Linked DNA regions of Homo sapiens: region 2 is linked to region 1. The links are contacts of gene promoters, found by promoter capture Hi-C in human tissues and cell types (Jung and others, 2019). All regions are on one chromosome and are shown on one strand. The core of a region is centred on a gene start or on the middle of the fragment in contact, and the rest is flanking DNA. Distances in the headings are between cores, read along the strand shown. Region 1 holds the start of BAHD1 (bromo adjacent homology domain containing 1). Region 2 overlaps BUB1B (BUB1 mitotic checkpoint serine/threonine kinase B).

Evidence for each region. The method cuts DNA at HindIII sites, captures the fragments that hold promoters and counts their contacts. A contact is called where the count stands out against the background at its distance.
Region 2: a fragment that was not itself captured here is called in contact with the fragment with the promoter of BAHD1 in region 1 in 2 of the 25 tissues and cell types used here (IMR-90 fibroblasts and small bowel).

What each region holds. Positions count from the first base shown.
Region 1 is chr15:40,439,282-40,444,589 of GRCh38, reverse strand. It overlaps BAHD1 (bromo adjacent homology domain containing 1), which reads right to left and starts at 3,637. Exons shown (of 7, transcript NM_014952.5): 1 at 3,322-3,637. RefSeq lists silencers at 2,212-2,281, 2,302-2,421, 3,142-3,201, 3,650-3,835, 3,262-3,931 and enhancers at 2,587-3,086, 3,087-3,588, 4,394-4,931. The HindIII fragment of the contact is 6,344 bases long and covers 2,984-5,308 here.
Region 2 is chr15:40,209,772-40,215,742 of GRCh38, reverse strand. BUB1B (BUB1 mitotic checkpoint serine/threonine kinase B) reads right to left here. Exons shown (of 23, transcript NM_001211.6): 17 at 5,968-5,971; 18 at 5,533-5,633; 19 at 3,095-3,244; 20 at 2,269-2,411. The region is part of intron 1 of LOC107984763 (a long non-coding RNA gene); the gene reads left to right. Among named protein-coding and RNA genes, the nearest start is that of BUB1B-PAK6, 4.7 kb to the left of the region's middle. The HindIII fragment of the contact is 5,363 bases long and covers 44-5,406 here.

The sequences.
Region 1 (5,308 bases), core at 2,388-4,887:
TTTCTTTTCTGTGCTCAGAATTGTGTTTTCTCCCTCATTTGCACCCGGTTTGAGAAGAGATAAAACATGGATTCATTTAGCATGAACAACAAGGAAAACTGCATAAGAGCAGCAAAGCTGGGTAGAAAGAATGGTGGTCCGGTGAGGTAGGAGGAAAACAGGATTACAGCCCTTTTCCAATGTCTATATGGTATCACATAAGCAATCCATAGGACTCTTCACCAGCAGAAATATTAGAAACAGCAGTTAAATTTCCCATTTACAGCACCCCAAACATGCCCTATCCATATGCCTTTGACAGAAAGGGCTGGAAATCTCCAAGGACTCCAATATGAGCATTTCTGGAGAAGCTGAAAGGAAGGTCTCCCCCTTGTTCCTGCCTAACTCAGCAACCAACCACATTTATTCACTCAACAAAAATGATGTGCACAGCACTGTACAAGAAATACCAGAATATTCACACACACACACACACACACAGAGGTTTAACACTCATATTGTTCCTGTCCTTAAGAAATTTCCAACCTACAAAACCACTCAAGAGGATACCACGTTAGAAAATCCAGAGTCATGAGCTCAGGCGGGGATGACTATGTTGGCCTGGAGTGGTCTGAGCAACAACCAGACTAAGGACAAGTGGGATTCAAGTGGGAGTAAAGGAAGGGGAGCGGCAGCAGTGAAGATGCAGGAAGAAAAAATGTGCATGGTATGGCTAGGGAAGAGCTGGAGGGGACACTGTCTAGGGTCAGACTGCAGGGAACGGGGAGCCATTGCAAGTCTGTGAGAAAGGGAGTGACACCGGGAAGGGGTGTTTTAGGAAGAATGACCTGGTAGCTGCATACAGACTGGATCAGAAGGGCCAAAGGAAGCAGGAGGGAAAGGGAGGCTATAACAACAACACAGGCCTGACACGGGGACAGCAGGACAACAGAAAGGAAGAAAGAGAGGGAGATATCAAAAAGAACCTAATCACTGGCTAAACTCTCCGGAGCAAACCCTCCTTAACACCAGATCCGACTGGCATGAGTCTCCTGCCAGGTAAGAGCCCTACCAAAGAGGGAAATGCTATTTGGGCAACTCCCCTTCATATTCCAGTGGCCAGACCACGTCATCCCCTTCTGACTGCCACCAAAAGAAATCACATGCCGTGTAGCCTCACAGAAGGCACAAAGGCCTTGAGATTCATCATCACTCTCTGGATTTTAGACATGCAATTAAATTATCTCAGAACAAACTTTAGCCTCCTGAGTGAGGTAATACCTACCTTTCTCACAAGCCTCAGCTCCATCCAGGCTGGGGTCTAGATCATTCCAGGGAGGTCCATGGGGGGTGGCCATGAATAAACTCCCATGCCCATGCTACCCTCTGAAGTGGCAGACAAGCAGCTTTCCCAGGTGGGATTACAGCCAACCACAGTTGAGAGCGGCTTCTAACCAGCCCTACCTGAGGTGGGACTCGAACTCAGATTCTCAGCAAAATCCACATTCTGAAACAGCCTGAGTTTCCCTGTCCTTATGATCCCAACTCTTCTTTTGGGTGTGGGGTTCACATGGAGGGCATGGGAGCTCTGAATGAGTTTTTCCAAGCAGGTAAACAACATCCAGCTCACAGCTGGTCACCGGGGGAGATGGAGGCACTCACAGCTTAAGCCAGTGGTTCCTAAGCATCCTCCAAGCTGGCCAAGGACAGTGGTGCCCCTCCAAGACATGTGGTCCCTCTGGGCCCTTTTTCTTTTTTTTTGTGGAAGACAGCGAGGTGAAGAGAGTAGGGAGGAAAGTCTCAGGTGGCACAAAGTAAAAGGACTGGAAAGCTTTTTATTTCATTATTAAATTCCTGCCTGGATTTATAAACTCAGCTTCTCATTTTTCTAAGTGGGTACCTTTGTGGCTAAGGAAAAGTGCTGGAGGCAGCTGCGGAGGGCTGGCGGGAGCCCACGGGGTGGGGTGTCTCTTGTCCTAATCAAACTAGTCTTCTGCACTTCTAACACTGTCGACAATGGGCGACTAGGAGATGTCCCAGGTGGGGTTAGACTTCTGCCTGTAGGCAGACTCTGCTTGTTGAAAAACCCCTCATTCTTGACAGGCTCTACAGCGGCTCACTGGGTCTGTCGCCTCGGTGAGTAGCAACCCCGTCGCCACCAGCCAAGGCACATCATGAGCATACACCCCCACCCCGGCCCCTCGGCCCCCGGCAAGTAGACCCCACTTCCCAGAGCCTCGAGGCCAACAGCGAGCGGCTAGAGCGGCAAGCCAGTGCCGCAGCTCCTCCCGGCGGGCGCCCCGGCCCCCGCAGTCCCCGGGGCAGAGTCCGGCCCCGTCGCCCGCCCCTCGGAGTGGGTGCCTCGGACCCGCTCCCCTCCCCGACGCCACCACCTGCGCCCGCTCCGGCGCCGCCTTTGTCCGGCGCTTCACCGCCAAGCGAGCCCCTCGGGCCCGACCTGACCCGGCCCCCAGCCCCAGAAGAGAGGCGGCGGAGCGAGCAGGGCAAGACCAGGCCGGGCCGCGAGCACAGGGTCCCGCTGTCACTTGGAGGCGGTCTGACAACTTCGATTCCCCCCGCCACACCTCGGACTCGGCCGCCGCCCCGCAAGGTCCCCGCAGGGCCTCCCGCGGCCCACACTCGCTTTTCGAACCGGTCCCCTTCCGTCTTCGGCGCCTCCCTTCCTCTCAGCCCGATCGAGTCGGGTCTACACTACTCCCCCCTGCCGCCCCCGGCCCGGCGCGGCCCTCATCCCCTGCCCCCCATCCAGCAATAACCGGTCAGCTCCCAGCGCGGGAGGGCGCCCCCCACCCTGAGCGGGCGATCCCGCGGCGCCGCCCCCGGCCGCGGCCCCTTGCCTCGGGGACCGCGATGGGGGAGGGGGCGCGGCGGGGGCCTCGCCGCCCGCGCACTCGGAGGCGAGCCGGCTCCGCCGCGGCGAGGAAAGACCGGCGTCCTCCCGCCCTCCGCAGCTCGGGACGCCCGCGCCGCCGCCGCCCGGCCGAGCTGCCACCCTGCGGCCGCCACCCACCCCGCCCCCGGCCTGCAAGGCGGGCGGCCCCCGGGGGCTGTCACCTCGAGGCGCGCCGCGTTCCCCGATGGCGGGACCGTGGTGCCGGACCCAGGGGAGGGAGGTGGCGCGAGCGGGCGGGCGGCCGCACCTGCTTCGCGTCGTCCGTCCGTCCGTCCCTTCCCGGGCTGGCGGGGGCGGTGGCGCGGCGCGCTCGGTGGGGCGCGCTGACGGGCGGCCGGTGCTCTCCCCCTTCGCTCTTCTGCCTACCTCGCTCGCTCCCTCCCTCCAGCTCGCCCCTTCCCCCTCCTCGACCCCGGCCCCTGACTCACCAGAACGGGCGGCGCGGACGGCGCGGCTCTGGGCGCCCGCAGGCCCCGGCCGGGCTGGAATCCGGCGGCTGGAACCCCCCGGGGGCGCTCAATTCCCGGGCTCCACGCTGCTGCGTCAGCGCCTCCTCCTGGGGGCCGGGGCCGGGCGGGCGGAGCGGGGACCGCGGCCGGGCGGGGCCGTCGGGGGGGGCGGGCGCGCCTGGCCGGGGCGGGCGGACGGCGGGGGCCGGACGGGCGGGGCAGGCAGCCGGACGGGCGGGCGGCGGGGGCCGGGCTCCGGGATCCGCTACGCCGCTCGCGGTTCCCCCACAAACTCCCCGAGAGCGGAGCCTCCGCCGCCCTCCTTCCTGCTTCCTCGTCCCCAGCCAATCAGCAGCGCGCCCCTCGGCCAGCTCCGCCAATCAGCCGCCCCGCCCTGCGCTGGCTCCGCCAGCCAATCCGGCCCTCGGCTCCCCCTCCCGGTCTCTGACCAATCAGAACCGTGGGTCGGTCGTCCCAACGCAGGGGGCAGCACGAGGCGGCCGGGGGAGGCGGTGCGGGGAGTGGTGGGGCCTTGGGGGAGGGGTGCCGTGCCAAGGGTGGTGGCAAGGGGTGATTTTCTTTGCCGGCTTCTTGGATTTTTCTCTTCGTCTTCAGAACCTGAGCCCGTATCCCACGGTGACTCGACCCCAATCTCCCAGCTGCTAGCCCCCCCGGAAAAATCTTATCTCCCCCCGCCCTGGCCATCACCCCTCCGCATCCCCTTTCCCCCAAATCCTCCCCAGCACGCGCTGGAGAAAACTGCGGGCCGAGGAACACCCCATCCTCGCCGGAGGCTGCTGCCCCCAGGGCAAAGCTTCAGGAAGACCAGCCGAAAATCAAGCGAGAACAACCCCCCTTTCCTGCAGAAAGGGCCCCAGACTCCTGCAAAAGGGCCCCGACTGCTGAGAAGCCCCTCCCGCCCTTGCCTCATCTTTCCGACTTCCCTGCCTGCCACGTCTCCTTTCCTTTCCAGCAAGGTCGGTCCTGGCTCGGTAACCCCTCACCCGCATCTCTTTTTCCTCTTTCTGCCCTTCACCTACCGCCCCCAACCCCAGCTCCTAATTCACCCTCTTCAGAAGCAGAGTGTGGAGCCCTCATCCATTTCCAGCTGACAGCAGAGCCTGGTCTGTGAGTCCTTGACACCCACACACCCTCTTCCACCACCGCGGGGAACATCAGAGCTCTCCGGGGGAGGGAGAAAGGGGCGGGCAGCCTGACAGGAGCGGCTGGACTCCCTCCCTCGCGTCCCCAAGCTACGGGAGAACCAAGTGTAGACACTTACCTGGCTTCCCCCTAGTCACCAAATGCTGTGGCTCCGTCTCTCACCCCCACAGACGTGCCCTCCCAAGCCCGAGCACGCTCGCGGGGTCAGTGGGGTGGGTGGGCACAGCAGGCTAAGGGCACAGAGAGAGATGGGAAGTCCCTGTTAGGTGCGGGAAGGAGCTGTGTCTTGGGCACCTGGTGGTGCCAGAGCCCGCCTAGGACTTCACTAAGCCCGGGATATGCACACAGTAGGTTCTCGAGAAATGCTGAGTTCACCCCTGAACAAAGCCTCATTCCCAATTCAGGCGGGGGAGGGGAGCTTTAGGAGGTAAAAGGAGCAGCGGCAGAAAGGGTAGTGTCAAGTCACCAGAGCGCTGGAGCAGCCCAGGGAGGGGCTGGGCCCCAGGAACGCCTTGGGCAGAGAGAGGCACCCAGAGTGCTGAGGCTGCCCAGGCAAGCAAGGAAAACCCAGCCTTGGAGTGTGGCCCAGGGGCTTCGGAGGGGCTCCTCCTGCACCACACACAGCGCCCAGCCTTTCCTAGACCTTGGGACTCCAGCGCTCACCCAGGCAGCCTTTTAAGACAATCAGGGCTGCTAGCCAATATGGCTGGGAAACAACCTCCCCCAGAAGCAGTTCCCCATCTGCCTCCAGAGCTGTCCAGGGGGCCCAGACTGTCTTAGCTGTTTGGGGGGACACACTTAA
Region 2 (5,971 bases), core at 1,476-3,975, 230 kb after region 1:
GGCTGGAGTGCAGTGGCATGATCTTGGCTCACTGCAAGCTCTGCCTCCCGGGTTCACGCCATTCTCCTGCCTCAGCCTCCTGAGTAGCTGGGACTACAGGCACCTGCCACCACGGCTGGCTATCTTGTTGTATTTTTAGTAGAGACAGGGTTTCACTGTGTTAGCCAGGATGGTCTTGATCTCCTGACCTCGTGATCCGCCCGCCTCGGCCTCCCAAAATGCTGGGATTACAGGCGTGAGCTACTGCGCCCGGCCTCTGGCTTTTTTTTTGAGACAGAATTTTGCTCTTGTTGCCCAGACTGGAGTACAATGGTGCGATCTCAGTTCACCACAACCTCTGCCTCCTGAGTTCAAGCAATTCTCCTTCCTCAGCCTCCCAAGTAGCTGGGATTACAGGCATGCACCACCATACCTGGCTAATTTTGTATTTTTAGTAGGATGGGGTTTCTCCATGTTGGTCAGGCTGGTCTTGAACTCCCAACCTCAGGTGATCTGCCCGCCTCAGCCTCCAAAAGTGCTGGGATTGATTATAGGCATGAGCCACTGTGCTCGGCCCCTTTCTGGCTTTTAATTCCTTATGAATCTATGTGAAATTTCTGATTAAATTTGATAAGCAGTGACAAAGTAAAAAGCAATGCCTCTTTAATACTATGGACTTTCCTAGAGCCTCTAGTGGCTGAGAGAAGGGTTATCGTACTTCATTAGACCACAAATGGCCAATTCTAAAAGGCTTAGAAAAAACCTCTGCTTCCAATTTCCATAGCCCTGGGAATTTCAGCACTGTCATTTTAATGTTAAGTAGAGTGAAAATATACCAGGGGTTCTCATACTTGGAAATTTGGGGGGATTTTTGGTGGTCACAACGGCTTAGGGGATTGTTACTTGCACTTAATTGGGTGGGTGGGGGGGAATAGGAATATAAAACATCCTGCATTGCTTGGAACACACCTGCACAAAGAATTGTCTCACCCAAAATACCTATGGTGCCCTGGATGAGAAATGCTGCTACATTATGTCTGGGAAAGCCTTTGACTCTGCTATCTCAGGGGAGAAGGTGGGATTCTCTGGTTCTTTTGGTTACAATCACAGGAACACATTGAGGGTTCTTTTAATTTCCACGTTAACTATAATTTAGAGTCTAATTCAATCTCTTCTGATAGATTAAGTATTCAGAAGAAATGTAAAGAGTAAGTCCAGCTATTAGTGTATACCAGTGGCCTCAGAAACAAAGTTAACACCTCACCCAAGACACAGGGTTGGGCAGACACAGCATCTTTAAACCAGGCTGCTTTTACTCAAATACTATAACACCAATGATCACTAAAAGAATATAGTAGTCCTCTAGTACTTTTCACAAAGCAAAAATGTTGGACTGTTTTTGCCTAGTTAATGCCTGAACGTGATCTATATTTTCTCAGTCCTTAGTATTCATTTATTATTTCCTGCTCTGTGCTCACCCCTTGAACCTGATGGACACACTGGGTTTAATTTGAACACTAAACCCCATTCCTTGGCATAGTTTGTATTTGAACTCTGGTTTTACCCACTTCTCTTGGCTAACAGGTCAGTTAGGCCTGACTTAAGCTTTGGTCTATGAAACTGAGTAGTGCCTTGATTTTGCTGGCATCCTCGCTAGAGTGGCACTGGTCCCACTCAAAGAATGACTAAACAATCCACTTTATATTCCTCAAAATATTCATATTTTATATCTCATCTTGACATATATCATCACAATACTCAGTGATTAATTCTTTTATCTGATTTAATCTATTTCCTCAATGTGTTTATTTCTTTGAATTATTTTAAACTATTCTTAATGATTTTTGACTTTTAGGTAAATACTCTCTTAACATAATATGTTCCTCGATATGGCATTTATCAAAAGGCTTTAAAAATTGGCAACTTGGCCGGGTGCAGTGGCTCACGCCTATAATCCCAGCACTTTGGGAGGCTGAGGTGGGCAGATCACTTGAGGCCAGGAGTTTGAGACCAGCCTGGGCAACATGGTGAAACCTCATCTCTACCAAAAAATACAAAAAATTAGCCAGGTGTGGTGGTGCGCGCCTGTGGTCCCAGCTACTAGCAAGGTTAAGATGGGAGAATCGTTTGAACCTGGGAGATGGAGGCTGCAGTGAGCCAAGATCATGCCACTGTACTCCAACCTAGGTGACAGAGTGAGACCCTCGCCTCAAAAAAGAAAAAAAAAAGTGGCAACTATCCATGTTTTAAGAGACAGCTGGCAGAATTATAAGAATGAAAAGGACCAACCTGTTTCTGAGAATCAGACACCTTGGACTCAAGTCACCATGGACTATTTCTGCTTTGTGTAGCATCTCCACTATTGTCAAAAGGTTATAAATAATCAACACTGTTATTTCATGGGTAATATATTCACTGTGTTGGAGAAGATCCTGGAAATTGAAGGACAGAAAACTCACTATTTCTCAAGTTTGGCAGATCGTAGTTATACTCAATACCTTGAAAACTGATGGTTTGTAGTCTTCCTTGTTCTCTACTGGAACGTAGGCACCTCTGTAGACTGAGTCTATGTCCCAGTTTTAATAACACTGCCATCTCCCATAAGATTGTTTGTAAGGATTTAATGACATAATGATGAAGGGCATCAAGCATGAGCCTGGCCCAAAATAGGTACTTAATAAATGGATTTAAAATACCCTCATTCCAACCATTTTTGAGAATTCATATTATCATCAAAATCCATAGCAAACCTTCTTAAGAACAAACCGAAGAGTAAAATGACATATTGTGTCTGGGTTTTAAAAACTATCCAGTGGGGGTAGTATAGCTAAAACAAGAGTGACCATGAGCTAAGATTATCATAGATGACTAGTTCATGGGAGTTCATTGTACAATTCTACTTTTATTTATGCTTGACAACGGACCAAAAAAAGTTAAAAAAATACCAAAGAGATCTTTGGTCAAAATAACGAGAAAATTATCAATGCTTCTAACTTATACTTGAATTGGTCTATTTCTAGAAGATTGACAGGAATTTTGTACTAAATTCCTTTGCTAAATGGAGCACAAATCTCTCTACTTCAGGACTTTAAATTATGTTTTTAGTATTACAGACCTGAAGGGTGAAGCAGTTTATATATTGGTGCCAAACAATACAGCCATCTTGATATTGATAACAGCTGCAAAAATGATCAAAATCTTCATTTAAACGTTCCTTTAACTTGAGGTTGATATAAAAGTCCCATGGGACAGGTTGAGAAGATACCTGTAAGACATTGTATTTTAAAAATAAGTTCAGTTAAGTCTATGGTTATGGCTGGCAGGTTGAAACACATTCCTTCCAGCCCTTCTGATAGAGAAATAATAAAGAGATATTTTTAAAGGCATAAATCTACTATAAAAGACACAATAACAACAAATTCTGGAAAGAGGATAAGCTGGAAAGAGAACAGGAGGTAACAATCCAATTAGAATAAAAACTGATTTTGGCAGAGGAGAAAGCTGAGCTACATTTACACTACAAGGCTATTTTCCTATACTATATAACTGGCAGCACCAATTACCCATGGAAGTGAGGCTGAGGGTGGAGCTAAGACAGGAGTGATTGAATCCCATTTAAGAGGAAGGTAGGCCTAGTGCAGTGGCTCATGCCTGTAATCCCAGCACTCTGGGAGGCTGAGGCGTGTGGATTACCTGACATCAGGGGTTCAAGACCAGCCTGACCAATGATTATGAAGGGGTGAAACCCCGTCTCTGCTAAAAATACAAAAAATTAGCTAGGCTTTTGGTGGCGGGTGCCTGTAATCCCAGCTACGCGGGAGGCTGAGACAGGAGAATCGCTTGACCCTGGGAGGCAGAGGTTGCAGTGAGCCAAAATCATGCCATTGCACTCCAGCCAGGGTGACAAGAGCAAAACTCCGTCTCGAAGAAAAAAAAAAACAAAAAAACAGGAAGGTAGACCCCAGCTTCCCTCCTCTGCTCCCATAGCCCAGCCCAGCAACTACCTCTCCCCTATTCTCGAAGTCCAGAAGTTTATTACCTAGTGAGTATAAAACAGAAGGGCTCTGGACTAGAGGGCACTAGGCACCACTGAGGGGGGTAGAAATAACATAGAAAACAGGAAAAAGTATATATATCAGATGTTATATATGCAGCAGTTAAGATGCACCTCCCTGCTCTTCTATTCTTCAGACCAATTTCCTCACTCAGATTTCAGAAAGCTAGCAGCCAGGCTTATATGCTCCAGGCAGAAAATTAGAAGTCTTCTCTGAGGGAGAAGACTTCTATGATCAGGTCAAGAGAAAGGATCTAAAGATTGGAGGGTTTTCCAATAAAATGGCCAAACTAGATCATCCTACATTGAGGTCCACAGCTGTCAAGGTCTTTCCATATACACAGAGCTTTCAATGTCCCATACTTAAATACGAATAGAGAGCCAAAGACTTGAAGAAAGCCTGTAGTGTGAGAGAGATCAAAACAGACAAAAAAGAAAACAAGAAGAAACAGATGACAAAGGGGTAAAAAATTTTAAAAAGAGCTCTTGAAAATTAAATATAGAAATAAAAACCTAGTAAAAAGACCAAAAATATTAAGCTGATAATATACTCAGAAAGTAAAGTAAAAAGACAAAGAGAGAATATAGGAGAAAAAAAGTTAAATTTTTAGAGGTTCTGTCCAAAGATGCCATATACACCTCTAATAAAAGGAATTAGAGAATAAGAGAACAGAGAAAACTGAGGGGAAAAATAATTTTCCCATTGAAGAAAATTTCTCAGAACTGAGGGAATTAACAGATTGAAATGGCCATTGAGTACCTAGCACATAAGTGACAACAAACTTATGAAAAGGCATGTAATTGTGACATTTCAGAATAGTGGGGACAAGAATAAGATCCTATAAGGATCCAGAAAGAAGGAAAAATAACTTCACACAAAGCTTTGAGACTCAGAATGGCAAAAAAATTCAAAAGCAAAGTTAGATGCCTGTAATCCAGTTCTTTGGGAGGCCAAGGTGGGAGGACTGCTTGAGCCATGAATTCAAGACCAGCCTAGGCAACACAGAGAGGCCCCCGTCTCTACAAAAAATAATTAGCTGGGAGTGGTGGCGTGCACCTACGGTCCCAGCTATTCCAGAGGCTGAGGTGGGAGGATTGCTTGAGCTCAAGAGGTTGAGGCTGCAGTGAGCCGTGATCATGCTACTGTACTCCAGCCTGGATGACAGAGACCGTGTCCTTTAAAAAACAAAGATAAAAAGAAACTAGGTATCCAATATAAGACAAAGGTAATGTGAATACCTAGGATGATAATAAATGGAAATTCCAAGGTGATTGTGTGTGGTGATTGTGTGAAAGCTAATGTATAACTTGTCCAGATTGGAGCAGGCCAGAAAGTATCAGCAGAGATTTCCTAAAAAAAATGAAACTGAAAGGATACTTAATATATTTGGACATATTGAAAGAGATTATTAGAAAGATTTGATGGTAACATGAGGACAGTTATTGCTCCAATCCGTATTATTTACAAAGTAACTGAAATTATAAAGAATCAGTCCCACCTTTATTACTGTTAATTCTGCAGAGTTTCTTGGCGCCACCCAGAATAACTTGTAATCTTCACATATTAGGTATTCTCGTTTAATGCAGTAATCCTCATTACCTGTTGAGAAAGTTTGATTCCATTTAAAAATCACTGTGAACATATACAGCCCTGTAGCTTTTACCTCCTGGTTTAAGGGATAGAGGCACTGGTGTATTTGCCAGTTAGTAGTATCTAGAATACTTTTAAAAATAATTTGTTAAAGATTGCAAGAGGAGAAGACATAATTCCTATTATTAGGACATGAAGTTACTGATGTGTCATCCTCTATATTGCTTTTTTAAAAAATACAATCTAGGAATATTTACAGTGCTCAAGCATCAAGCTTAAGTACAAATAATCACTTATTTGTATACTGTCATGAACCAGAGGACATGAGTTCAATGGTACTTACCTAA